7 separate regions of the Homo sapiens genome follow, and all the other regions are linked to region 1. Evidence: promoter capture Hi-C in 16 types of primary human blood cells and fetal thymus (Javierre and others, 2016). All regions are on one chromosome and are shown on one strand. Each heading gives the region's core, a stretch centred on a gene start or on the middle of the fragment in contact. The rest is flanking DNA. Distances are from core to core; before and after follow the strand shown. Region 1 holds the start of SRSF11 (serine and arginine rich splicing factor 11). Region 2 holds the start of ATG4C (autophagy related 4C cysteine peptidase). Region 3 overlaps JAK1 (Janus kinase 1). Region 4 overlaps MSH4 (mutS homolog 4). Region 5 overlaps ACADM (acyl-CoA dehydrogenase medium chain). Region 6 overlaps ITGB3BP (integrin subunit beta 3 binding protein). Region 7 holds the start of PGM1 (phosphoglucomutase 1).

Region 1 (3,396 bases), core at 384-2,883:
TTTGTAATTTTGCTGAGGCTCACATTCAGTCAACCCATCCATTTTCTGTATAAGCACTAGTGAAAGTCACTTAGCCAGTTGGCTCTACACCCAAATCTCAATAACCTTGTGCTCTAATCTCTCACATATTGCATCTTGACTGCATTGTGCCAAGAGGTATTCACTAATGTAGATACTCTGTAAGGCTTCAAGTTTGTTTGTTTGTTTTTACCTCCAAAACATCTAAAACTTTTACCTCTAAAAACATTCAAGGTCAAGTGAATTATTTAGTGAACTGTCTTAAATGCCATTGTCATTAAGGTATATTTGTGCGTGTGTCCAGCACATTCATTGGGACTGACTGTGTGACAGACATTGTGCCAGGTTCTGGACTGACCCAGGAAGCTCACAACTTTGAGTGATACATGTCAATAATAAATACATGTATCTTCTGTTACTTAGCAGAAAAGAGGAAGCCCTAACAGCTTGCAGAAGTCATAGCAGTGAGGGAAGGAATGCTCTACAGAAGATGACAGATAAGATGAGTGATGTTATTAATAACTTGTGTATCGGCACAGAGACATTATGGTTTTTGTCATGTTTGGGGCACTACAAGTCACTGGACTACACACTGGATGCAGTTGAGAGAATAGTTCAGATGAGGTTGAAAACAAAAGCAAGGATTTTTTTAATAGTCAAAAGCTTCAAAATTATTTTAAGCAAGAATATGTATGTGAAACAAGTTTTTCTTGAGAAATTGCAGTATTTTCTTTAGAAATATATACTTGAATATATTTAAGTACTATAAACTGTGTTTCCAAAGTCAGCTATTGTGGAATTGGCTGGGTGCAGTGGCTCACGCGCCTGTAATCCCAGAACTTTGGGAGGCCAAGGCGGGTGGATCACCAGAGGTCAGGAGTTGGAGACCAGCCTGGCCAACATGGTGAAACCCCATGTCTACTAAAAATACAAAACTTAGCCTGGCGTCGTGGCAGGCGCCTGTAATCCCAGCTACTCCCGAGGCCTAGGTAGGAGAATGGCTTGAACAGGGGAAGTGGAGGTTGCAGCGAGCCAAGATGGTGCCACTGCACTCCAGCCTGGGCGACAGGGCGACTCTGTCTCAAAAAAAAAAGTCATCCATTGTGAATGAATGTACAAAACGCTTATTAATAAGTGTAATATTAAAATATATCTTTTCTGAAAGTTTTAGTGACAAAACAAATTAGTTACAGATTTAATGTTACCAAAATTCATGTACATTGAAAATTTCGGGACATTTTATACTGGTGGTGGTGGGGTGGCATCTTAGCTTGGGTTTAAATATCATTAGTAATCGGATAGCTCTGTAGATGATTATCAGTATATAAAGACATCGTGAGCAGTATTTAATAAGAAGAGTTGCTGAAGTGACTTTTGCAGGAGGATGAATGCTTTTTTTAAAAAAAAAGTTTATACGTGCCTCTTCGCTCTTCCAAAAAAAAAAGAGAGAAGAAAAAGAAGAATAAAACGAGAGACGAAGGTGGATAACACCTTTCTCTAGACCCCGGTGCCTCTCATTTCTCGGGCTGCAGGCGACGGCTGCTGGGCCTGCGCGGGGTGGAGCCGACGCTGACGCGCCCTGCGCCGCAAAGCATTGTGGGAGCTCGGGCCCGCTAGTGTCGTGGTTGGAGGCGAGGTGGGGCGGCCGTTTGTTTTCTCGTGGTCTCGAGCTCGCGCGCTCTCATCCCCTCCCCCGCGGCGTGCGGCGGGGCGGAGAAACGGCGGCGGCGGCGGCGGCATCGGCAGCAGTAGCAGAGGCTGTAGCATCGGACACCCTCCTCTCTCCCGCAATCCGGTTCCTCTTCCCCCTCCTTCTCACTGTTTGTTGTGTGTTTGATGTGTTAAAGCAGGAGCGAGAACCCGAGCAGCGCCATGAGCAACACTACCGTCGTCCCCAGCACTGCAGGTCCGGGCCCCAGCGGCGGGCCCGGTGGCGGAGGTGGTGGTGGCGGCGGAGGCGGCGGCACCGAGGTAATCCAGGTGACTAATGTCTCCCCGAGCGCTAGCTCTGAGCAGATGCGGACTCTCTTCGGTTTCCTAGGCAAGATCGACGAACTGCGCCTCTTCCCGCCGGAGTGAGTATCGTCCACCATCACTGTTCCTGCTAACGCCGCCTCAGCCTGGGCCTAACACACACAATTTCCTTAGGCCCCTGTCGCTGCTTCCCCGGGCCAGGCTGCTTGAGTGGCTGGTGGCTGGTGGATTTACTTAAGACGGTTGTGTTCCAGGCCTACAAAAAAATGCAGAGAGGCAGGGCCAGGGCTTTTTGGAATTAGGAAACACTGGCTGTTATTCTCGGGAAATTTTTTTTTTCCGCCTTAAATTGTGCCAACGTGGTCGTTTGGCTTTGGGGACTTAACGCAAGACTAACCGCAGTCTGTACGTCGTATATAGGTTAAATCCCTTTTTTAAAAAACTGAGTATTTGTTCTTTGCGTTCTTGGAAGAAAGGTAACAAAATTATTCATGCCTGTGTTAATTTGGTGTTAAACTTTGTAGGTTGTTCACTTATTGTTATTGCTGTTATGTGGTTCTGGCCCAGCAATATAATTCAAAGATCATATTCTTTTTGACAGACGCTTAGTTTAGTGTGAGCCTGATTACTTAATTTGTATAATGTCAAAAAACGGGTTATAAACCAGAGATTTTCCTTTGTTTGAATAATATACAGATTTGTGATATTTCACAGTTGTTCTTGAGAAGGATTTTTATAAATGTTGAAATTTGAATTAGAGTGTATGACTTTTTATCCTTTTTGTCTCACTTTTATTTTGAAAATTATTTCTATCGCAAGAATATTAAGTGGATGAATTGTAAAGAAAAAATAGTTCAAAGAAGCTAAGAAGTAAGATAAAGTGTACTACTAAAACAGACAATTGGAATAATAATAATAGTCTTGTGCTTTTTGGAAGACTTATTGGTGGAGAAGTGACAATTCAAATGTCATTATCAGTAAATATCATATATTGAGAATTTTATGATGTCACTTAAATACTAAACAGGAAATTGGAATCCTCTAAGAATCTACTGTTATGGTACGTGTAACCATTAACTTTCTGCTCAATAAAATAATTGACAAAAGTTTATCATAATGAGATATTTGTTAAGTATTAGCATATTTCATCACTTTCCACTTAAAATACTTTCACAAGATTATTGGTGTTTTCAAATTGGTATGTTTCTAATTTTTAGGGAAATGTACATGTGGAGAGAGGATTTACTTAGTTTGCATGACGTGGAGTTCTGGGAACAAACACGTAAATCTTTATTCCTGTTATTTTGACAGATACTTGATTTGGTAATGAAAGACAAATAGCTTTCATAACATGAACATACAAAAATAGATGCTTTGCTGTTGTTCAGTTTTCTCAAGACTTAC
Region 2 (3,520 bases), core at 899-3,398, 7.4 Mb before region 1:
CTTGAAAATAATCTGAATATGGAAAATGAGTGCACATATCCCTTGATGTTTTATAAATAACCTACAGTCCTAATAATGGCTTGGCTTAGAGTTCCTTCACAACAGGAAAAGAAGGCATCCTGGCTTTTTTTTTTTTTTTTTTTTTAAATCAAAGTGAGGCTTGGGTTGGCTCTATCTTGGTCCTGAGTGCGAGGAAGGAGGGCCGCAATGCATGCTGGATCTTGCAGTTCCTACGCCAGAGGCAAGGGCGTGATGCTGCATGGCCTGCTGGTAGTTGAAGTCCAAGTGCTCGAGAGGAATTTATGGCAGCCGTAATGTGGTTTGTCTATCAGAGAGACAATGCTCACAGACGGATACTTTCTCTTGGTTCTGCGCTTGCTGCATTGGTGGATTAGCGGCTTGGGGTGGCGAACAGGTGGGAAAAAGGGATGGATAAAGTAAGCATAGCAGAGGCCTTTACGCCGCTGCTATCGCTACTGCCAATCGCAAGGCTTTCGTATCCCGGAAGTGGCTGATCTGTTGGATTTGACGCGGAGGCGGTTCCTCTTACTACGGTGGCCGGGGTGCTCAAAGTACCTGTAGCTGCGGCGCTGAGGTCGGAACGTCTGCGTGTGTGCGGGCTGGTTTTGTGGCGGCTGCTGCTAGAGCTGGAGCATTTGCCGGGTTGGTGGCTCCTGCACATTTTTACAGTTCTCCAGTCCTTCTCTTTCGGTGAGGGATCGGCTTGAGGCTAAAGGAGTCAAGAAGTTTGGGACTTAGCGTCTCTGGTCCCCGAATGACTGGGTTTCTTGCGGGGGTCCGCCTTCAGTGAAGACCCTGTGGCCAACCATCTGGGTTCTCTGAGGGTTTTGGCGCCTTCCTTGTCTCTCCTTTCTAGTGTCATTTGTCTTCTAACTCTTCCTCGCTTTGTCCTGGGTTGCAGAGATAAACCGTAAGCCTAACTGTGGGCAGCTGTTCCTCCTTTCCTTGTGGTTTTCTTAGATGTTGCAGGCAAGACTCTTTCCCCTGATCTATCGCATCCATTTGACCCCTCCTCATGCCAGTGCTCTGTCGGCCCTGTTTTTCCTCGTTTAAAAAATAAAAAAAGGGAAATAATAATAATAACTGGATCCCCACTGTCTCTCTGTTCTCATTCCTAGCCTCTTTCTCCCTTTTTGGTGTTTGTTACTGCTTCAAGCCATAACACACTGCCTTGCATATATTAATGCCTTTCCATCTAAATATTAACGTTCATTCACTTCATTTGGTTCCCGCTCACCGTGAACTCTCCCAACCCTACCCACATCTAAGGGCTTTTGAGGTTGGAGGTGTAGAATAAATTCTTACATATGATGACTATATTCATATATGAGAACCTTCAGCGGTCAACTCAGCATCACTGCTTATTGAGTTTATATTTCTTGTGATTTCTTTGGCTTACCTTTTCGTTTTGTATTGGTTATTTACCCACATGGGGCTCACTGCTACCCTATAGTTACAGAAGAATACCTCGTCTTACATCTTTTTATATCCGAATTACTTAGGAGTTTTCTTATGTTTTCCTGCTCGGACCATATGTCCCCGGTGGGTTTTTGGCAATGATTTTGTGTCAGTTGATGGCAGAAAGAGACAAGGGAATGATCTTCTTGCTTGCTTGTGACTTGTAATTAGATTATGAGCCATTGAGAATACCCAGAGGGAGTGGAAAGGCTTTGAAAGGTAAAGTCTATGTATTTTCTGAGTTTCAAATTGATAAAGCTTCTTCTTTGAACAGGAAGAGTTTCTATTTAGTCCAATAATCTGAGGCTATATTGAATTACCAGTTCATTCGCTATAAAATTTTTAGAACCACATGTCAAAAAGTGGCCCATCTAAAGAATTGTATAATTTAGCAAAAAGTCATTAAAAGCCATTTAATTAATGCTCTTTTTCTTTAAAATAGGATTCAAGTATTTGGAAAAATGTATTTATGGTGATTGGTTATGAAGTATTTCTAGATGTTTTGATGGTTCTGGTGAACAGCATCGTATTCTGTTCACTAATGTTTTATAAAAAGGCAGAAATTTTCTGGCTTTCTGGGGAACCACGTAACTCAAATGAGTTTGCAGCTCGTTTTCTATTCCAATTATTGCACTAAAGAGGTTCTTATACTAAGATTATCATTCTTTTTTAAGCTATCAAGTATGATCTATACATGTCAGTAAAATATAAATATTAATACTGGTACAATGTTAAATTGGGATTATTCCTAATTAATGCACAAAATGCTGAAATGGTTTCAGCCATGCTTAAGATTTGGGGCGAAATATATTTCAGAATAAATTTACTCATATAATTTTTTATTGAAAAAAATGATACGGTAGCCATTACTCAATCTTTTAATATTTTTCCTGAGATTTTATTCATTTAGTAGGAATTTAGTGACTACTTACTATTTAACTATTGTCACAAAATCACCAAAACATTTGTTTGTAAGAGTATCCTCTTGTCCTCAGCTCTGCATAGATACTTTTAAAGCATTAGCGCAGTTATTCCAACTAAGCTATTGAGTATTATTTACATTTAACAGATGAAAAAACTGAAGCTTGAAGAATTTAAGGAAATTAATTCAGTTCTTTTCGACTCTTCCCACTGTACAACAGCTGCAAGGATCTGTGCTCTATCCTGAAATATATAAAGAGCGTTAAATCAACATATGCTTACTGAGCAGCTATTCATACCAGACACTCTTCAAGGTGCTGGGGATATAGAGTGAACAAGAAAAGTCCCTGCTCTTAGGGAGCTTATACTCTAGCAGAATGTATGAGATGTAAACTTTCCCTTCAAGAAGCAGAAAATATAGTCAATATGTATTAGATTTTACGGGAGTGTTTTAGAATGTTAAAGGTGAGAAGAGAGATAACTAGGGAATGTTTCATGAAGATGAGATCTAATGTGGAATTTAAATAGTGGTTAGGGATTGGTAGGTAGAAATTAGGACCCTGTCTCAAAAAAAAAAAAAACAAGTGAAAATCTGTGATATAGAATAATTGGTGAGCCTTATAAAGCACTTTATTTTTATTTTTTGGACTATATATAAGTAAAATTGTAATATTTGACATGCATTCAATCATTTAGCATTTATTTATTAACTAGACACTCTTCTAGGCCACAGTGGTATAGTAGTGAGTAAATACGGTGTTTACCCTCATAGAATTTACTAACAGAGGAGGCAGACATAAATCAAATAGTCAAAGAAATTTAAAGTTACAACTGTGGTAAATGCTATTAAAAAAGGACTTGATGTTACACAGAGGAAGAACTGATTACAGAGGGGATAAGAGTGGGGATGGGGAGAGGCCAGTTAGAAGATTGTTGGAGTGGCCCAATTGAGAGATGGTATTTTGGACAAGGTGGTGGTGGTAAGATGGATTCCAGAGGTGTTCAGGAGGTGGAACTAGGCGATGGATTAGATATGGAAGGTGAGGGAGAGGAAGATATCATGGGCTAATCTTAGGTTTTTGGCTTATATAACTGGAAGGATTGTTGCACCCTTCACCGA
Region 3 (3,472 bases), core at 69-2,568, 5.3 Mb before region 1:
CAAGTCCAGGTGTGGCAAGAACTTACCCAGAACAGGCCTTAAAGCACTCTAGCACCACCAAGTTCAGCTGCAGCAGGGGGTCTGAGCTCTACAATGCCTCTCCCATCCCACAAACTCCAGCTTCTCCTGGGCCCAAACTTCCTACCTGAGCAAACAGATACTCCAGTGAGCTGGCATCAAGGAGAGGGGTTGCATCTGGAATCTTTTTTTTCTCGTAGCCATTTTTCTGCTTCTTTGGAGAATGACGCCACACTGACTGCTCATTGTCGTTGGTTCCATGCCAATTGGTGAAATAGAACCTGGAAGGCAGGAAAATGAATGCCAATTGTGGCAAAGGGGACCCAGATGTGGGCAGGGCGTCCTGGCTCACCAACAGTGGTCAGTGCCGGAGGCTGAAGTGCCCTGAGAAGCAGGCAGACAACCCTGCCCCTTGTAGCCCCTCACCATCTCTTTCCTTCTTACTAGCGCTGCGTGAGAAGTGTCCCATCAGCACCTCCTCTATGACTCAGGGAGCTAAAGTGACTTCCCGAAGATCACAAAGACAGCTCCTCTGACTTCTCACTATGCTTCCAGAATAGGGAAACACCTGCTGACTGGAACTCCATGCTGACCACAGCTCCCTGCACGCTTACCATCAGCCACACTGCTAAGCCCATTCTACCTCGAATCCAAGACCAATTTGATTGACATTTTAACATTCCTGCAACTTAGTTTCATCACGCAATCAAGATATACAGCTTACGTGGCAGTGTTTCCTACTTCCCAGATTGCTGCTATTCAACTGATGGTGTATCTTACATGATGAATAGGATTTTAAAAGAGAGCTACCCAAACACCACTACAGGCATCATGAAACGAGTTAACAAGCACTTTATATATATTATGTTATTTAATCTTCACAGCAACTCTACAAGGAAGGTTTCATTCATTTTACAGATGAGGAAAACTGAGATTCCAAGAGGCTAGGTGACCTAAAACTACAAAAGCCTGTTCTCTTAACTACTACAGTTGACCCTTGAACAGCATGGGTTTGAACCACAGAAGTCCATTCATACACAGATTTTTTTTTCAATAAGTATATTGAAAATTTTTTTGGAGATTTGCAACAGTTTGAAAAAACTGACGAACTGTGTAGCACAGAAATTTTTTTTTTTTAATTTCAGAAAAAGGTACATCATGAATACATAAGATATATACAGGTTACTAGTCTGTTTATGTTATTGGTAAGGCTTCCAGTCAACAGTGGGCTATTATTATTAGCTATGTTTTGGAGGGTCAAAGTTATGCATGGATTGTCAATTGCACAGGGGGTTGGTGCCCCTAACCCTACCTTCCATATATAACTTCCTCTGTCACCTGTAAGAAAAACACAATTTCTGGAATGTGTGGAAGTGACTAAGGGAAGTGACTGAGCCAAGCCAGCCCAGGCCATCTGTAGGCTACAGACTCAGCTGCTACCTAGGTCTCTTTCCCTTGACTTGCCCATGAACTAATGAGAAAAGAACCATGTCATGGAGAAGCAATAAATACAACTCCCTCTTTCCCTGCAAAAAGCTGCTGCTACACTTCAACAACTGTCACTGTGCTATGTTTGCAGAGCCTAAGACAAGCCAGGCCCTGAGTTAGGGCCTGAGATGTGGAGGGCTCTCAGGCATGTTTCTCGTACTCTGTGAGTTCCTGTCTCTGGGAGCAACCGGTCAGGTCCAGCAGCAACTATCCAGCAACACACAATGGGGCACGTATCACAAGCAGGACTACACTGTGACTTCCATAGGCCCTAAACACTTTTCCCTTCCTCCATAAAAAATATTACAAGTTATATTTCTCAACTATGTTTTCTGATTTTAAGTGAAATTAGACATTTTATGGGCCCCTAACAAGTGTGTGCTCTAGGCACTGTGCTTAAAGGATAAGTTGTCCTTGGACATATGACAGTCTCTGGCGAGGTGCCGAGGAGACAGGTCGCCCTCCATTGCCAGGGGAGGTGGCAGGAGGGGAAAAAGCACCAAGGAAGGGAAGCTGGAACAGAATAATTAAATGCCAGGCTACAGAGCCTGGACCATGCAAAGCAGGCAGAGCAAAGAACGAAAGCCAGGCACATATGAGGCACGCTCTCCTGGGAGGGAAGCCCCATGGAAGATAGAAACGGAAGCGGCAGAGAGAAGCAGATGCCTGTGGCATCATTCGAGCAATGCCGTGAGCTGTGCACGGAAGCAAAGGCTGCAGCTGTCCTGCTCACCACTGAATCCCAGTGCCTGGTACCTAACAGCTACTGAACACATGCTTGATAGATAAACAAAAGATGAATAAACTCAGGGAGTAGCAATTAACATGGAAAGGATAAACAAAGAAGTTACTTTAAAGGTAAAAACCAACATTTTTATAATCTTCAATGATTCTATACAGCCCATCTTCCTTGTAATTTACGAAAGTGACTGAGAATTTGACTGTGGGCTTTGGTGTCTCTCTCACACACAGAAAGAATCACACATCTGCAGAGCCACGGGCAGCATGAGCCACGTCAGGCCTCTGAAGCTGCTGGACTGTTCCCTTACCCTCCGCTGGTGACAGTGGAAAGCTAGGGCTATCAGCTGGCAGGGAGGCTGCCACTCATGCTGTACCCAGGCCTGGCACTGCTCTTCAAGGGTAGAACAGAACACGTGCCCAGGAGAACTTAGCCACGATCCTCTCCCTGGGACAAGCAGGAAGGAAGGAGTGAACCAGCTACAGAGGTTCAAAGAGGGGTTCTGACAGAATGGCCAACAGGAGGGGTAAATGCTGTTTGATGGCGGAGGAAGGCAGTAATAAGAGAATGAGAAGTAGGTACAATATGGAAGGTTTCCCGAGATAAGGAAAGAAAAGGGTTCCGAGGATGGAGGGTGTTGTCCAAGAGAGAAGAATCTCTGATGAGGTGCCAAGGAGAGAGACAGGTCACCCTCCACTGCCAGGGGAGGTGGCAGGAGGGGAAAAGGCAGATGTTCCCTGAGCCAACGGAGCCACGGCCTTCTTCTTCCACATCCTACTGAGTCTCTGTGAGAAACAGTCCTTGGATCTGGTAGAGATGAGGGCCCAACAAACTCCCTCTGGGCAGAACACAATCTTCAATCTGGTCTGAACAACGATATTCTTCCAGGCTGCTGAGAGCCCTGTGGGACCATCTTTGTCTTGGAAGCCTTTAGGTCAGATACTCAGACAGCATCAGGCTGAGGAGACCAAACATAATGTGTAGCTTCTCCACTGGAACAAAGGCTAAAGGTAAACAGAAGATGAGGGAGCCTAAAATAAGGCCGGCAGCTTTCTCCTTAATAAGATGTCAAAAATATTAACAAAATTTTAAATCCATGACTACCAGAATCAGTACCCTCCCTATCACCCATAAGACCAAGCTTGAAGACACACTGAAGACAGACATTCCACACACCTTTTTAAAATTAATTATAAAGGTGCTCATCAAACCTGGTACACAAAAATT
Region 4 (3,169 bases), core at 511-3,010, 5.6 Mb after region 1:
TTTAACCCAGAGACCCCCCATATTCAACACCAGGTCTCTGGTTTTGGTGACTGGATAGATGGTAGTAGTATTTTCTGATTCTGGGAATTTTGTAGGCAAAGCAAATTTTAGAGGGAAGATGATGAGCTCTGTTATGGACATGCTGAGTGTGAAAAGCCTGTGGGATATCCATATATTTATATTAAGATAATTGAATATAGGAAACTAGAGCTAAGAAGAGAGAAACTTGAGGGAAATATGGATTTGAAAGTTACCAGTATGTTGGGACCACAGCAGAGAATATGAAGACTATATAGCAAAATAGAGGTCAAGGAAGTAGGAGGAGAATTAAGACAAGTGAATGAGTTTCAAGAAAGGGTATATAGTCTAAAAGTAGTCTGAGAACAAGAAACAGCCCTCTCCATCTCCAGTTTCCGCATCTCCAGTTTCTGGCAACCACTCTCTTCCTTAGCTCCCTAAAGCCTAGAAATGCTAATGGAGCACATTTTATGCTGGTTCTACACACGTCTTTATGATAGCACCCCTACACCCTGTCCACACCTTTGTAAATATTCTCTTTATCAAATTATCCCAGTTTGAGTATATCATTGATTCCTGCTGGAACCCATATAATGAAGTTATATTTTACCCTATGGTGAGTATGGGGAGACACATAGGAATTGTAAGAAAGAGAGATACTGATCAGATTTGCTTTTCAGAAAGATTATTGGTGATGATTCGAAGAATAGATTAGAGAGGTGTAATACTGGAAGCAAGGAGAAGAAGAAGTAGGAAACTTGCACAAGGACCAAAGAAGATACAGGCTTAAAATGGGCTGGGAGGAGTAGAGAGGGATTTAAATTTTAGTGATGTTAAAAAAAAAGAATTCTAGCACTCAGTCACTGAGTGTTAGGGTTGATGAAGGAAGAATTGAGAATGTCTCCTAAGCTTATGACTTGAGTGACAAGGGACAAGCTGGTACAATTAACCATACTGGTAATAAAGAATTAATTTTGAGGGAAAGATAGAGTTCACTTTTGGACATTTAGAATGCTGGGAAGATACCTAAAGGTTTATGCCCAAGAGATAGATATAGTGACCTGGAGCTACATTGTCTGATAGAATATTCTGTGATAATAGAAACGTTTCATACTTATGCTGTCCGATGTGGTAACTAGTAGCCGTATGTGGCTTTTGAGCATTTGAAAATGTTGCTAGTGTGACTGAGGAACAGAATTTAAATTGTATTTAATTTTGATTTAGTTAAATACTCACATATGCTGCTTTATTGAACAATGCAGGTATAGAGCTGAGAACGGTTTTTGCACTTTTGAAGGATTAAAGAATCAAGAATATTTTGTGATATTAAAATTATATGAAATTTAGAATTCAATATGTAGAAATAAAGCCATTTTTAATTGAAACATAGCCATTCTCATTTATTTATGTATTATCTATGACTGCTTTTCTATGATAGTGTCAGAGCTGAGTAATTGTGACAGTGATTATATGGCCCACAAAAGCCTAAAATATTTGCCATCTGGTCCTTTATTTAAAAGTTTATGGGCTGGGCATGATGGCTCATGCCTATAATCCCAGCACTTTGGGAGGCTGAGGTGGGCAGATCACCTGAGGCCAGGAGTTCATGACCAGTCTGGCCAACATGACAAAACCCTGTCTCTATTAAAAATACAAAAAAAAAATAGCCAGGTGTGGTGGGCATGCCTATAATGCCAGCTGCTTGGGAGGCTGAGGCAGGAGGATTGCTTGAACCTGGGAGGCAGAGGCTGCAGTGAGCTGAGATTGCGCCATTGCACTCTAGCCTGGGCAACAAGAGTGAAACTCCATCTCAAAAAAAAAAAAAAAAAGTTTATGCTGAGGCATGGTGGCTTATGCTTGTAATCTCAGTGCTTTGGGAGGCTGAAGTGGGAGGATTGCTTGAGGCCAGGTGTTTGAGATCAGCCTGGGCAATGTAGCAAGACCCTGTCTCTATAAAAAAAAAATTAGCTGTGTGTGGTGAGGTGCACCTATAGTCCATAGTTACTCAAGAGGCTGAAGCAGGAGGTTACTTGAGCCCATGAGCTTGAGGCTGCAGTGAGCTGTGATCACACTACTGCACTCCAGTCTGGGCGACAAAGAGAGACCTTGTCTTTATAAGACAGTAAAATAGACTGGGCATGGTGGCTCCCGATTATAATCCCAGCATTTTGGGAGGCTGAGATGGGAAGATCACTTGAGCCCAGGAGTTTGAGACCAGCCTGGGCAACATGGCAAAACCCCATCTCTACAAAAATACAAAAAATTAGCCTGGCATGGTGGCATGAGCCTATAGTCCCAGCTACTCGGGAGGGTGAGGTAGGAGGATTGCTTGAGCCCAGGAGTTCAAGGCTGCATTTAGCCAAGATCACACCACTGAATTCCAGCCTAAGCTACAGAACGAGAGTCTCACATACAGACAAAAAGGAAAAATTAAAAGTTTAGCAACCCCTGGTTTACAGTTTAAGGAGTCGTTACAGCTATATACGAAGGCTTGAGAGTTGTCAGAAAATAGATGTTAATAGAAACAAAGAGGAGAGATGAGATGCCTGGAGATGCATAATGTTGATTTGTGAGGGAAAGCTTAAAAGTATGAAGCCCTGGAGGCCAACAGTTAAGAAGCAGAGGAAAAAGGAGATGGCAAAGGAAACTAAAAGTGGTTTAAAGAGAATTCAAGATAGAGAGTTGTGGAAATCAAAGAGAATAGGTGAACAGAGCCCAAACATTTTAAAATTTTTTTAGAACTTCTATGTGCCAAGAGGCTATGCTAGGTTGTTTATGTACATTATTTAAAAATTTTATGACAATCCTGTAAAATAGGTAATAGCTTACATCAGTAGATAAGTACCTAAATAAGGAACTGAAGCCAATTGAGTCTAAAATGCCATTTGCATAGGGGAGAGAAATTCAATGAAGAAATTAACAGAAGAAGGTTAAAAGAGGTCTAATAATTATTATACAAATGAAACATATGTCTTAGTCTGTATTCTGTTGCTTTTAAAAGAATACTTGAAACTGGGTGATTATCAAGAAAGAAAACATATTTCTTGGAAGTCTGGAGGCTGGGAAGTCCAAGGTCAAAGGAGGCACATTTAGTGAGGGTCTTTGTGCTGGTGGAGTCTCTGTAGAGTCCTGTAGTGGTACAGGGCATCAC
Region 5 (3,290 bases), core at 791-3,290, 5.5 Mb after region 1:
CAGGAGAAATCTATGGTGGTTCACTGAGTGACAGAGGATGAGTTAGATATAATTGTTTGGGAGGGAGATTGTGAAGTTCAATACGGGTCTATTCCTTGAACCAGTTGCATCTGGTTCTTTATCTGTAAAGTGGAAATAATATCTATAACACAGAATTTCTATGAAGATTAAATTATATGCTGTATTTAAAGCCCCTAGCACTTAGTGACTGGATCAAAGTAGTTTCTCAATAAATAATACATAATACATACTTGTCATTTTTCCTTTTTTTTTTTTTTAAGAGACAGGGTTTCACTCTGTCACCCAAGCTGGATGCAACCTTGACCTCTGGGGCTCCATGGATTCTCTCGCCTCAGCTTCCTGAGCAGTTAGGACAATAGGTCCATGTCAACCACACCTAGCTGATTTTTTAAATTTTTAAATGTTTTGTTGAGACAGGATCTTGCTATATTGCTCAGGCTGGCCCCAAACTCCTGGCCTCAAATGGTTCACCTGCCTCAGCCTCCCAAAATTCTAGAATTATAGGCATGAGCTACCGTGCCCAGACTTTCTCTACCCTCTATCTACCTGCAAGATTGCTATCAACTGGCACCAATCTTAGAAGTAAAGCTGTGATAGAGAGAACACTGGACTGAAATTCTTAAGTATACTTCTGCTAATTCATTGTGAGACTGATACTAGAATTTCCTTACTCTGCATTAGTTTATCAATAAAAAGAGAGATTTGGCTGGGCGCAGTGGCTCGGGCCTGTAATCCCAGCACTTTGGGAGGCCGAGGTGGGCGGATCACGAGGTCAGAAGATCGAGATCCTGGTGAAACCCCGTCTCTACTAAAAATACAAAAAAAAAAATTAGCCGGGCGCGGTGGCAGGCACCTGTAGTCCCAGCTGCTCAGGAGGCTGAGACAGGAGAATGGCGTGAACCCGGGAGGCGGAGCTTGCAGTGAGCCTAGATTGCGCCACTGCACTCCAGTCTGGGCGACAGAGCGAGACTCCGTCTCAAAAAAAAAAAAAAAAAAAAAAAAAAAGAGATTTGATCTTATGCTCTTCAATTCAGCACCAGAATTCAGCTTTTATGTATTGTTTCTCACATCCCCATACAAATGATTACTGTAGTCTTAAACATTCCTCTGTGCATTTGCTCTCATTTTTCTTGCTTGAAATACCCTATTATCTCTTAAATTTTACCTAATCTTTGACGTTAGATGCAACCACATTAAAACACAAGGATACCATGGATTTGAAAAGATGCAGTTAGCAATTGACTCCTCTCCTCAATCAAGCCACCATACTAATTTCATTAATTTTAAAACAATCCCTTATTTTATGTAAACAAATTGTTGGACACCATTTATTAGCATTGCAGCAGGATTTTATGTTATTATCTTTTGAAAAACCTTTCTACCACTTTTACCAGTTGCTTTGTGCTAATTTATAAGCTTGTCTGAGTTTAAAGGAGCTGTAAGCCTAGGCATGGTGTCTCATGCTTGTAATCCCAGCACTTTAGGAGACCACGGCAGGAGGATTGCTTGAGGCCACGAGTTCAAGACCAGCCTGGCATCATAGTGAGACCCTGTCTCTGTGAAAACAAAAAAAATGAAATAGATAGGGTGAGGTGGCTCCCAGCACTTTGGGAGGCCAAGATGGGAGAATCATTTGAGCCCAGGAGTTCTAGACCCATTTGGGCAACATGGCAAAACCCTGTATCTACAAAAATTACAAAAATTAGCCAGATATGGTGGCATGTGCCTGTGATCCCAGCTAGTTGAGAAGCTGTGGTGGGAAGATCATTTAAGGCCAGGAGGTCGAGGCTACAGTGAGTCGTAATTGCACCACTGCACTCCAGCCTGAGTGACAAAATGAGACTGTCTCAAAAAAAAAAAGCAAAATTATGATATTGATATTCTTATATGACACTTTGAAATAAGTTTTATTGCTTTATGTCACTGAGTGTGTTTCATCTATTTCGTTAGATTGATTCTTGTCGTCAGGGAGATGTCTTGTATATTAGTTTCACTTCAGTGTTAGCAAACATTTGATAAATTGGCTTAGGAACTAATAATAAGTTAAACGTTTTTTATATCACCAATTGGAAAAGAAAAACTCACTTGAGCTCTACAGGTTAATATCTATTACTCATTTGTAAAAGTTAAAAATCTTACCTATTTCCTTTAGCATTTGTATTGACATAGGTTTATTTATATTGTGTAGTGAACTCTTGATTAGTCAAAAAATGCACTGTAGTCTGAGTTTCTGATAATCAAGGATTTAAGTCCCCACAATAAATACACATTTCTACATACTGACTTCATAGGACATTTTTCCTTGTTATCCAGTTTTAACTTTTCTAAATAATTTTCCCTTAGAGTTCACCGAACAGCAGAAAGAATTTCAAGCTACTGCTCGTAAATTTGCCAGAGAGGAAATCATCCCAGTGGCTGCAGAATATGATAAAACTGGTGAAGTAGGTATATACATTTTAAAGAGGGAAAAATCTTTTACATTTTTTACAAGATTATGTAATCAAACTATCTGGATTTCAAAATATATTTTAACTCAGTTCTTTTTCTTCTAGTATCCAGTCCCCCTAATTAGAAGAGCCTGGGAACTTGGTTTAATGAACACACACATTCCAGAGAACTGTGGTAAGCTTTCTTTATATTTTTAATACTGGAATGCATATGAGTAAGAAAAATTGTGGAACTCTACTCAGTCATTTTTTTCAAATATTTCTTGCCATTAAATGACTTTCTACCTTTGTCTTCCTGCTCAGACTACAGTGTTTGCCCACTTTTGGAAGCTTGCACTCTATACCTAGATGCGTTTTTCCTTCTTCTAACTGGTTCCAACCTTAACTTGCACCTAAACCTTGGTAACTTCCGTTTCTAGAGTTGGTCAATTTGTTGTGTTTTATTCCTATCTTCTATATTACATTTTATTGAGTCTTTTTTGTGAACCATGATTCTTTTCCTCAGACCCAGTTTTAGAGTTGAATTGAGTTTTAACAAAATCAAGTTAGAACAGGAATACAGGTTCAAATTACAAATAGTAAAATAATTTTTTGAAAATTTTAGAGCTTTAAGAAAGTATAATTTCTTATTGTGCCAGCCAGAACACATGTAGATATTATATTGCAAATTTCCTTTTAAAACAAATTTTGGTCATATTGAAAGCAATTAAAATAGTTTACCTTTATTTCTATTGTGATGTACTACATATTACAATGTGTTGAAACATTTTGATACTGTAGGAGGTCTTGGACTTGGAACTTTTGATGCTTGTTTAATTAGTG
Region 6 (3,521 bases), core at 526-3,025, 6.7 Mb before region 1:
CATTCTTTTTTTTCAAAATTGTTTTGGCTACTGCAAGTCACTTGCCTTTCCATACAAATTTTGAAATCAGTTTTCAATTTCTAAAAAACGTTTGCTTGAAGAACTAAAAATAGAACTACCATTCAACGCCAGGCACGATGGTTCACGCCTGTAATCCCAGGACTTTGGGAGGCTGAGGTGGGCAGATTACAAGGTCAGGAGTTCAAGACCAGCCTGATCAATATGGTGAAACCCCATCTCTACTAAAAATACAAAAATTAGCCAGGCATGGTGGTGCATGCTTGTAGTCCCAGCTACTCAGGAGGCTGAGACAGGAGAATCACTTGAACTCGGGAGGCGGAGGTTGCAGTGAGCCAAGATTGCACCACTGCACTCCAGTCTGGACAACAGAGCAAGACTCCAACTTAAAAAAAAAAAAAAAAAAAAAAAAAAAAGAACTACCCAGCAACCACCACACTACTGGGTATCTATCAAAGGAAAATAAATCATTATATCAAAAAGACAAATGTACTTGTACATTTATTGTAGCACTATTCACAACAGCAAAGTCATGGAATCATCTTGTGTCCATCAATGGATGACTGGATAAAGAAATGTGGTATATATACACCATGGAACACTATGCAGCCATAAAAAAGAATGATACCGTGTTGTTCTGCAACAACATGAATAGAGCTGGAAATCATTATCTTAACTGGAATAACTCAGAAGCAGAAAATTAGGCCAGGCATGGTGGCTCACATCTGTAATCCCAACACTTTGGGAGGCTGAGCTGAGCAGATTGCTTGAGTCCAGAGTGAGCCTGGGAGGCAGAGGTTGTGGTGAGCAAACTGCACCACTGCACTCTAGCCTGGGTGACAGAGCAAGACCATGTCTCAAAAAAAAAAAAAAAAAAAAAGAGGAGAGGGGAGGGGAAGGGAAGCGGAGCGGGGGAAGGTGGGGGAGAAGGGGGGGGGAAGGGAAAAGGAAAGAAAAGAAAGAAAACAAGAGAAAAAAGAGGAAAGGAAAGCAAAGAAAATCAACTGGGTGTGGCAGTGCTCACACCTGTGATCTCAGCATTTTAGGAGGCTAAGGCATGAGGATTGTTTGAGATCAACATGGGCAACACAATGAGACTCTGTCTTTACAAAAAAATTAAAAATTAGGCCAGTGTGGTGGTGTACACCTGTAGTCCCAGCTACTTGGAAGGCTGAGGCAGGAGGATCACTTGAGCCCAGGAGGTGAAGGTTGCAGTGAGCCATGTTCATGCCACTGCAGTCCAGCCTGGGTGACAGAGTAAGACCTTGTTTCATGAAAAAAAAAAAAAAAGAAAAAAGAAAAAAAAAGAAAAGCAAATACCACATGTTCTCATCTATTAGTGGGAGCTAAACAATGGGTACATATGAACATACAGAGGGAAATAATAGACACTGAGACTTCAAAAGGAGGAAGTATGGGAGGAAGGTGAGGGTTGAAAAATTATCTTTCGGGTACAATGTTCACTATTTGTGTGATGGGCACCTACGAGCTCAAACCTCACCATTATGCAATATATCCTTGTAACAAATCTGCACATATACACCCTGAGTCTATAAAAAATAAAAACAAATAAGTTAGGTATAAATGATCATACTCAAAAAAAGAAAGTACAAAGAAGGAAAATTAGATTACATGAAAAATGAAATATAAAACAGAAAAGATAAAGATAATACCAAATACTATTATACAAGTTTTCATCCACTTAACTTTTTTTAAAAAAGATCCATTTTAAACAGTAGAAATAAAAAAAGAGCAAAACTTAAAAAGAAATGTTTGTTAGGATTATGACAGGGATTGCATTAAATCTAAACATTGGTGAGAACTAACATTTTAATAATACCACATTTATCACTTAAAAATACTCTCACCAGCATGGCACATGTATATATATGTAACTAACCTGCACATTGTGCACATGTACCCTAAAACTTAAAGTATAATAATAAAAAAATAAAAATAAATAAAAATAAATAAAAAATAAATAAAAATACTCTCATTTATCTTCATCTTTAATTTCTCTAAGGAACATTTTGTAATTTTCACTGTAGAGGTCTTGCATGTCTTATGCTAAATTATTATATGTTTTTATGTAATTATAAATGAAAAATCTTAAACTTCAATTTCCAGGTGTTTATTCCTGAAATATAGAAATATATTGATCTTTGTACACTGATTTTGCATCCTACATCCTTGCTAAATTGTTCTGAAAATTGTTTTATAGATTTTTTAGGATTTTCTTCATACATGATGTCATTGTTGAATCATTAATTTTACTTTTTCCTTTTTTGTTGTTGTTGTTTTTGTTTGTCTTGAGACAGGGTCATCCAGGCTGGAATGCAAGTGACACAATCACAGCTCACTGCAGCCTTGACTTCCTCGGCTCAAGTGATCCTCCTGCCTCAGCCTCCCAAGTAGCTGGGACTACAGGCACGTAACGTCACACCTTGTTAATTTTCATATTTTTTCGTAGAGACAGCGTTTTGCCATATTGCCCAGGCTAATCTTGAACTACTGGGCTCAAGCAATCTGCCTGTCTCAGCCTCCCAAAGTGATGGGATTACCGGCATGAGCCACTGGGCCTGGCCCCACTTTTTCCTTTTTAACACTATGGGTGTTTTTCTGTGTGTGCTTTTTTGAATAGAAGTGGTGAGAGGGCACGTTCTTGCCTTTTTCCTAATCTTAAAAAAGTTTTCGATACTAAATATATTATCTATAGGTTTTTCAAAGAAATGAGAAGTTGCCTCCTATTCCTAGTTTGCTGAGGGTTTTATTTTCTCACGAATGGGTATGTTCTCTGTACAATTAACCAATGAAATCGTCTGGGTCTTTGTGGGAAGATTCTTAGTAACAAATTCTATTTCCTTAATTATGCAGATTTTCTGTATCATCTTATGCCATCATGCTAAGTTGTATTTTTCAAGGAATTTGTCAATTTTGTATAAGTTGTCAAGTTTACTGGAATAAAGGCTTTAATGATATTACCTCTTTCAATATCTATAGCATCTTTAGTGGTATTCTGCTCTTTCATTTTGGATATTGATAGTTTATGTTCTCTTTCATCTAAGTACAATTTACCCTTTCATTCTGGATATTGATCATTTGGTTTCTCTCCTGTTAGACTGTTATATCTACCTTTCCCTTTCTTTTCTTTCTTTTTTTTTTTTAACTTTCAACTTTGTTGCTTATAGACAGTAAAGAGTTAGGACTTGCTTTAAAAAAAAATCTAGCCTTATAATATTCTCTACCTTTTTCACTGATGTCTTTACTGCACTTAAACTTGTAATTATCTGGTTGGGGCTACCATTTAGATAGTTGTTTTCTATTTGTCCCATCTGTTTTTGTTCCTTTGTTCTTTTTTACCTGCCTTCTTTTGAATTAACATTATTTTTAAATATATCATTTCAATTCCTCTATTTGTTTTTTAGGTATGCCTCTCTGCATTTTCAGAGGTTACTCTGGGGATTACAGTATGCCTTTTTAACATACCACAGTCTATCTAGAGT
Region 7 (3,070 bases), core at 571-3,070, 6.6 Mb before region 1:
TGTATATTCTCTATCTAAACCATACAACTCTAAGGTAGGTATTTTGAAGGCTCAGTGAATCTATGCTATATTTTCATTTTGTGGAGTTAGATAACCTTGATTACATTCACCATCCAATCCTCAATTCTCTCGTCTATAAAATGGGCTTGATTATATTATTTAATTCACAAGATTACACTGCTCTGTAAACTCCTGTGCAAATATTAGAACTCATTACTAGCAGTCCAGGGTTCCGTTTTCACATAATATTTGCCACCGAAACTCATCTATAGTGACTACATCAACACACTGTATCTACATAGCATGTACTATATGAGCATGTATATCAACACTTGGTTTGTGAGAGTCTGCACTCTTATGGGTCTGTTCGCCTCCCTGCTTGATCAAGACATACCAATTAACTACCAAAAGAATATAATTCACAGGTGAATGATATGCTCTGGTTTTGGAATTGGGGAAGGGGAGCTAATATTTTTGAAGGCCTCTATGTTTCAGGCACCAGGCTAGATGATTTACTTCTAACAGCTGATTATGATTGAATTTGTTTGGACTGGGTCATTTAGAAACCACCTCAAGTAATTCTACTGTGAGCATGGGTCACAGTAGGATTCTACTGTGTATCCATGACTGAGAATTTCTGACATACAAAACCCCATTAAATCTTGCAAAAATATTCCAAAGTAGGTGATATGTTTATTTTACAGTAAGGAAATTGATGCCCACGGACATTAACTAACTTTCCCAAGAGCACACACCTTGTAAAGCCAAGTTTTTTGCCACTTTACCAAAATGACAGGTTTCTTGAACAGAGGAGACAATCACTCTCATCAAATTAAGGGAGATACTAAACCGAAAAGCAAGAAAGACTGAAGATTCCTACTTAATAATCAAATCCCCTTGGTTGACCTTGCTATCCCCCGTGAAACTTTTCCAGCCATGTCAGTCCTTGTTTGTTGATCTCCTCACTTTATTTCTATTACATGAGTAACTGGCTAATTTTGATGGTGTTCATACTTATCCTTACCATATATTTGCTCCTACATTTGTCAAGTCCTGCTTGTACATTTCCTAGTTGCCAACCTGGTGTCACAGCGGGCAAATCATGGGAAGAGCCCTGGTTTTGGAGCCAGACCACCTGAATTGGCCTCCCGCATGGACTTAGCTGTGTGGCAATGAGACAAGGCATTTTATTCTTTGAATTTCAGTTTTGTAAGCATAAAAAGGGGAAAAATAAAACCCAGAGTTTAGTAAGGTTTAGAAACGCTACACTCAGCAAGTCATAGCTAAGTCACCGTCACCAATGGTAGTCAAGTGTGTGGTGCAGCAGGAAACATTTGGAGTCGACTCCTTTACGGAACTCAAATGCCCTCACATTTAGGGAGAAATAGAAAGAATTACGACTCATGAAATCGAGCTGGGGCTGGCACTTCTGACCCTCCCAACAGGTTTCCAGAAAGCTATTTACACACGATGCATTCGCCAAACCACTGGAAATCATTCTACCCTGTACTTTTTTCCACCCTGCCTCACGTCCTTGCCCTATGACCGGGTTCCTACCCCAACCTCTGCCCCAACACTTAGAGGAGGAGTTGCGGGCCTCTTTTTACAGTGGATAGGATTCCGAAGGGGAGAGTAAATCAGTAAGGCTCCACCCATTTCACAGGAGGCCTAGAGACCGGCGCTCCCCTTTCCCCTCCCGCCGGACCTGCCAGGAGGTGGGCTGGCGCGGAGGGAGGGCCCTGTCCCCTGTCCCTTTAAGGAGGAGGGCCAAACGCCGGCCTAGAGTGCGGCGTAGCCCCCACCCGCCGTGCCCTCACCCCAGAGCAGCTGCAGCCTCAGCCGGCCGCCCCTCCGCCAGCCAAGTCCGCCGCTCTGACCCCCGGCAGCAAGTCGCCACCATGGTGAAGATCGTGACAGTTAAGACCCAGGCGTACCAGGACCAGAAGCCGGGCACGAGCGGGCTGCGGAAGCGGGTGAAGGTGTTCCAGAGCAGCGCCAACTACGCGGAGAACTTCATCCAGAGTATCATCTCCACCGTGGAGCCGGCGCAGCGGCAGGAGGCCACGCTGGTGGTGGGCGGGGACGGCCGGTTCTACATGAAGGAGGCCATCCAGCTCATCGCTCGCATCGCTGCCGCCAACGGGGTAAGGGATGCGCGGCCCCGCGCCGCTGTGCACCCTGGCGCGTGTGCGACGTGCGGCCCGCGGCGCCCTCCCTCGCTCGGGGCCGGCCGCTTCCGCGCGCTGCCGCCTCGGTTTCCACCTCCCGCTCCTCCCTCTCCTTCGCGCTCGCTCTTCTGGCCTGGAGGCCCGACGGAGGTCGCCGGGCTGGGGAAAGTGGCCACGGGACCCGGCAGACCTGCTCGCCTGACTCCCGGGGCGCCGGGAGGTGCGGGCGCGGAGCCTCCCAAGGTCACGCCCGACTCTCCGTCTCTAGCCGCTGCCTTCCCTCTCCCCGTCCCCCGCCCCTCCCGAGGCGTCTGACATTTGCCCTAACCTTGCAGCCTTGGAAGATACGATTACGGCGCAGAGTGCTGTCGCCTTAAGCAGGAAAGGTTAGACTGCCGCCGCCTCGCCCAGAGCCCCCTCGCATCCCGCCCGCTCCTCTGCTATTCTCGGCTAGGACTGGCGCTTCCCGCTGGCTCGGAGCCCGACACTGTGGGGCAAGGGTGGCGAGAGCACCCATCCCCCTGGGGCGTCAGGTTGGCAGATCTCAGCAGGCGGGTGCCAATCTTTTCTCCCCGCCCCCTAGTTTGCCTTGGTTCCGAACTCCTGCCCTTTGCGCGGCCTGCTTGCTGGGGGGCAGGCGTTTGAAACATCTAGTCTCTGCCCAGTGGTGCCCGGGATCTGTTCCACCGACGGGGCTGGAGCTGAATTTTCATTAGAATGGCAACATACCCAAAGACGCCCTTACGCAAGCAAGCAGTCGTGGCAGGCCAGGAAATTACCGCAACACCTTGGTTCCGCCCCCGGCCAAGGAAAGTTAACTGACTTGATTGGGCGGGTCCACTCGGATAGGGGAAATTAAAAAAAAAAAGTTTTTCAGTAAATCTGATATATGGAAATGTGGG

The links. Contacts are between HindIII fragments. The CHiCAGO score rates a contact against its expected background, and 5 or more counts as called.
Region 2: a fragment that was not itself captured here is called in contact with the fragment with the promoter of SRSF11 in region 1 in 2 of 17 cell types (total CD4 T cells and non-activated CD4 T cells); the score reaches 8.5 in total CD4 T cells.
Region 3: a contact is called between a fragment that was not itself captured here and the fragment with the promoter of SRSF11 in region 1, in 1 of 17 cell types (total CD4 T cells). The highest score is 5.1, in total CD4 T cells.
Region 4: a contact is called between a fragment that was not itself captured here and the fragment with the promoter of SRSF11 in region 1, in 1 of 17 cell types (total CD4 T cells). The highest score is 5.3, in total CD4 T cells.
Region 5: a contact is called between a fragment that was not itself captured here and the fragment with the promoter of SRSF11 in region 1, in 1 of 17 cell types (total CD8 T cells). The highest score is 5.1, in total CD8 T cells.
Region 6: a contact is called between a fragment that was not itself captured here and the fragment with the promoter of SRSF11 in region 1, in 1 of 17 cell types (naive B cells). The highest score is 5.3, in naive B cells.
Region 7: a contact is called between the fragment with the promoter of PGM1 here and the fragment with the promoter of SRSF11 in region 1, in 2 of 17 cell types (total CD4 T cells and total CD8 T cells). The highest score is 7.5, in total CD4 T cells.

The regions. Positions count from the first base shown.
Region 1 is chr1:70,219,747-70,223,142 of GRCh38, forward strand. SRSF11 (serine and arginine rich splicing factor 11) reads left to right here and starts at 1,634. Exons shown (of 12, transcript NM_001350605.2): 1 at 1,634-2,093. The coding sequence starts at 1,891. RefSeq lists an enhancer at 1,528-2,073 and a silencer at 1,969-2,018. The HindIII fragment of the contact is 2,724 bases long and covers 680-3,396 here.
Region 2 is chr1:62,783,563-62,787,082 of GRCh38, forward strand. ATG4C (autophagy related 4C cysteine peptidase) reads left to right here and starts at 570. Exons shown (of 11, transcript NM_032852.4): 1 at 570-711. RefSeq lists enhancers at 271-320, 421-480, 601-780 and a silencer at 756-1,050. The HindIII fragment of the contact is 826 bases long and covers 1,736-2,561 here.
Region 3 is chr1:64,873,225-64,876,696 of GRCh38, forward strand. It overlaps JAK1 (Janus kinase 1), which reads right to left. Exons shown (of 25, transcript NM_002227.4): 5 at 146-299. Among named protein-coding and RNA genes, the nearest start is that of JAK1, 92 kb to the right of the region's middle. The HindIII fragment of the contact is 4,131 bases long and covers 1-3,384 here.
Region 4 is chr1:75,799,739-75,802,907 of GRCh38, forward strand. The region is part of intron 1 of MSH4 (mutS homolog 4); the gene reads left to right. Among named protein-coding and RNA genes, the nearest start is that of MSH4, 4.4 kb to the left of the region's middle. The HindIII fragment of the contact is 1,671 bases long and covers 926-2,596 here.
Region 5 is chr1:75,730,280-75,733,569 of GRCh38, forward strand. It overlaps ACADM (acyl-CoA dehydrogenase medium chain), which reads left to right. Exons shown (of 12, transcript NM_000016.6): 3 at 2,365-2,462; 4 at 2,574-2,643; 5 at 3,249-3,290. Among named protein-coding and RNA genes, the nearest start is that of ACADM, 7.2 kb to the left of the region's middle. The HindIII fragment of the contact is 1,211 bases long and covers 1,436-2,646 here.
Region 6 is chr1:63,515,420-63,518,940 of GRCh38, forward strand. The region is part of intron 1 of ITGB3BP (integrin subunit beta 3 binding protein); the gene reads right to left. LOC102724319 (a long non-coding RNA gene) reads left to right here. Exons shown (of 3, transcript XR_426701.4): 3 at 2,337-2,375. Among named protein-coding and RNA genes, the nearest start is that of ITGB3BP, 6.0 kb to the right of the region's middle. The HindIII fragment of the contact is 5,782 bases long and covers 1-3,521 here.
Region 7 is chr1:63,591,591-63,594,660 of GRCh38, forward strand. It overlaps PGM1 (phosphoglucomutase 1), which reads left to right and starts at 1,821. Exons shown (of 11, transcript NM_002633.3): 1 at 1,821-2,144. The coding sequence starts at 1,899. RefSeq lists enhancers at 1,808-2,097, 2,798-2,857 and a silencer at 2,138-2,437. The HindIII fragment of the contact is 4,618 bases long and covers 1-3,070 here.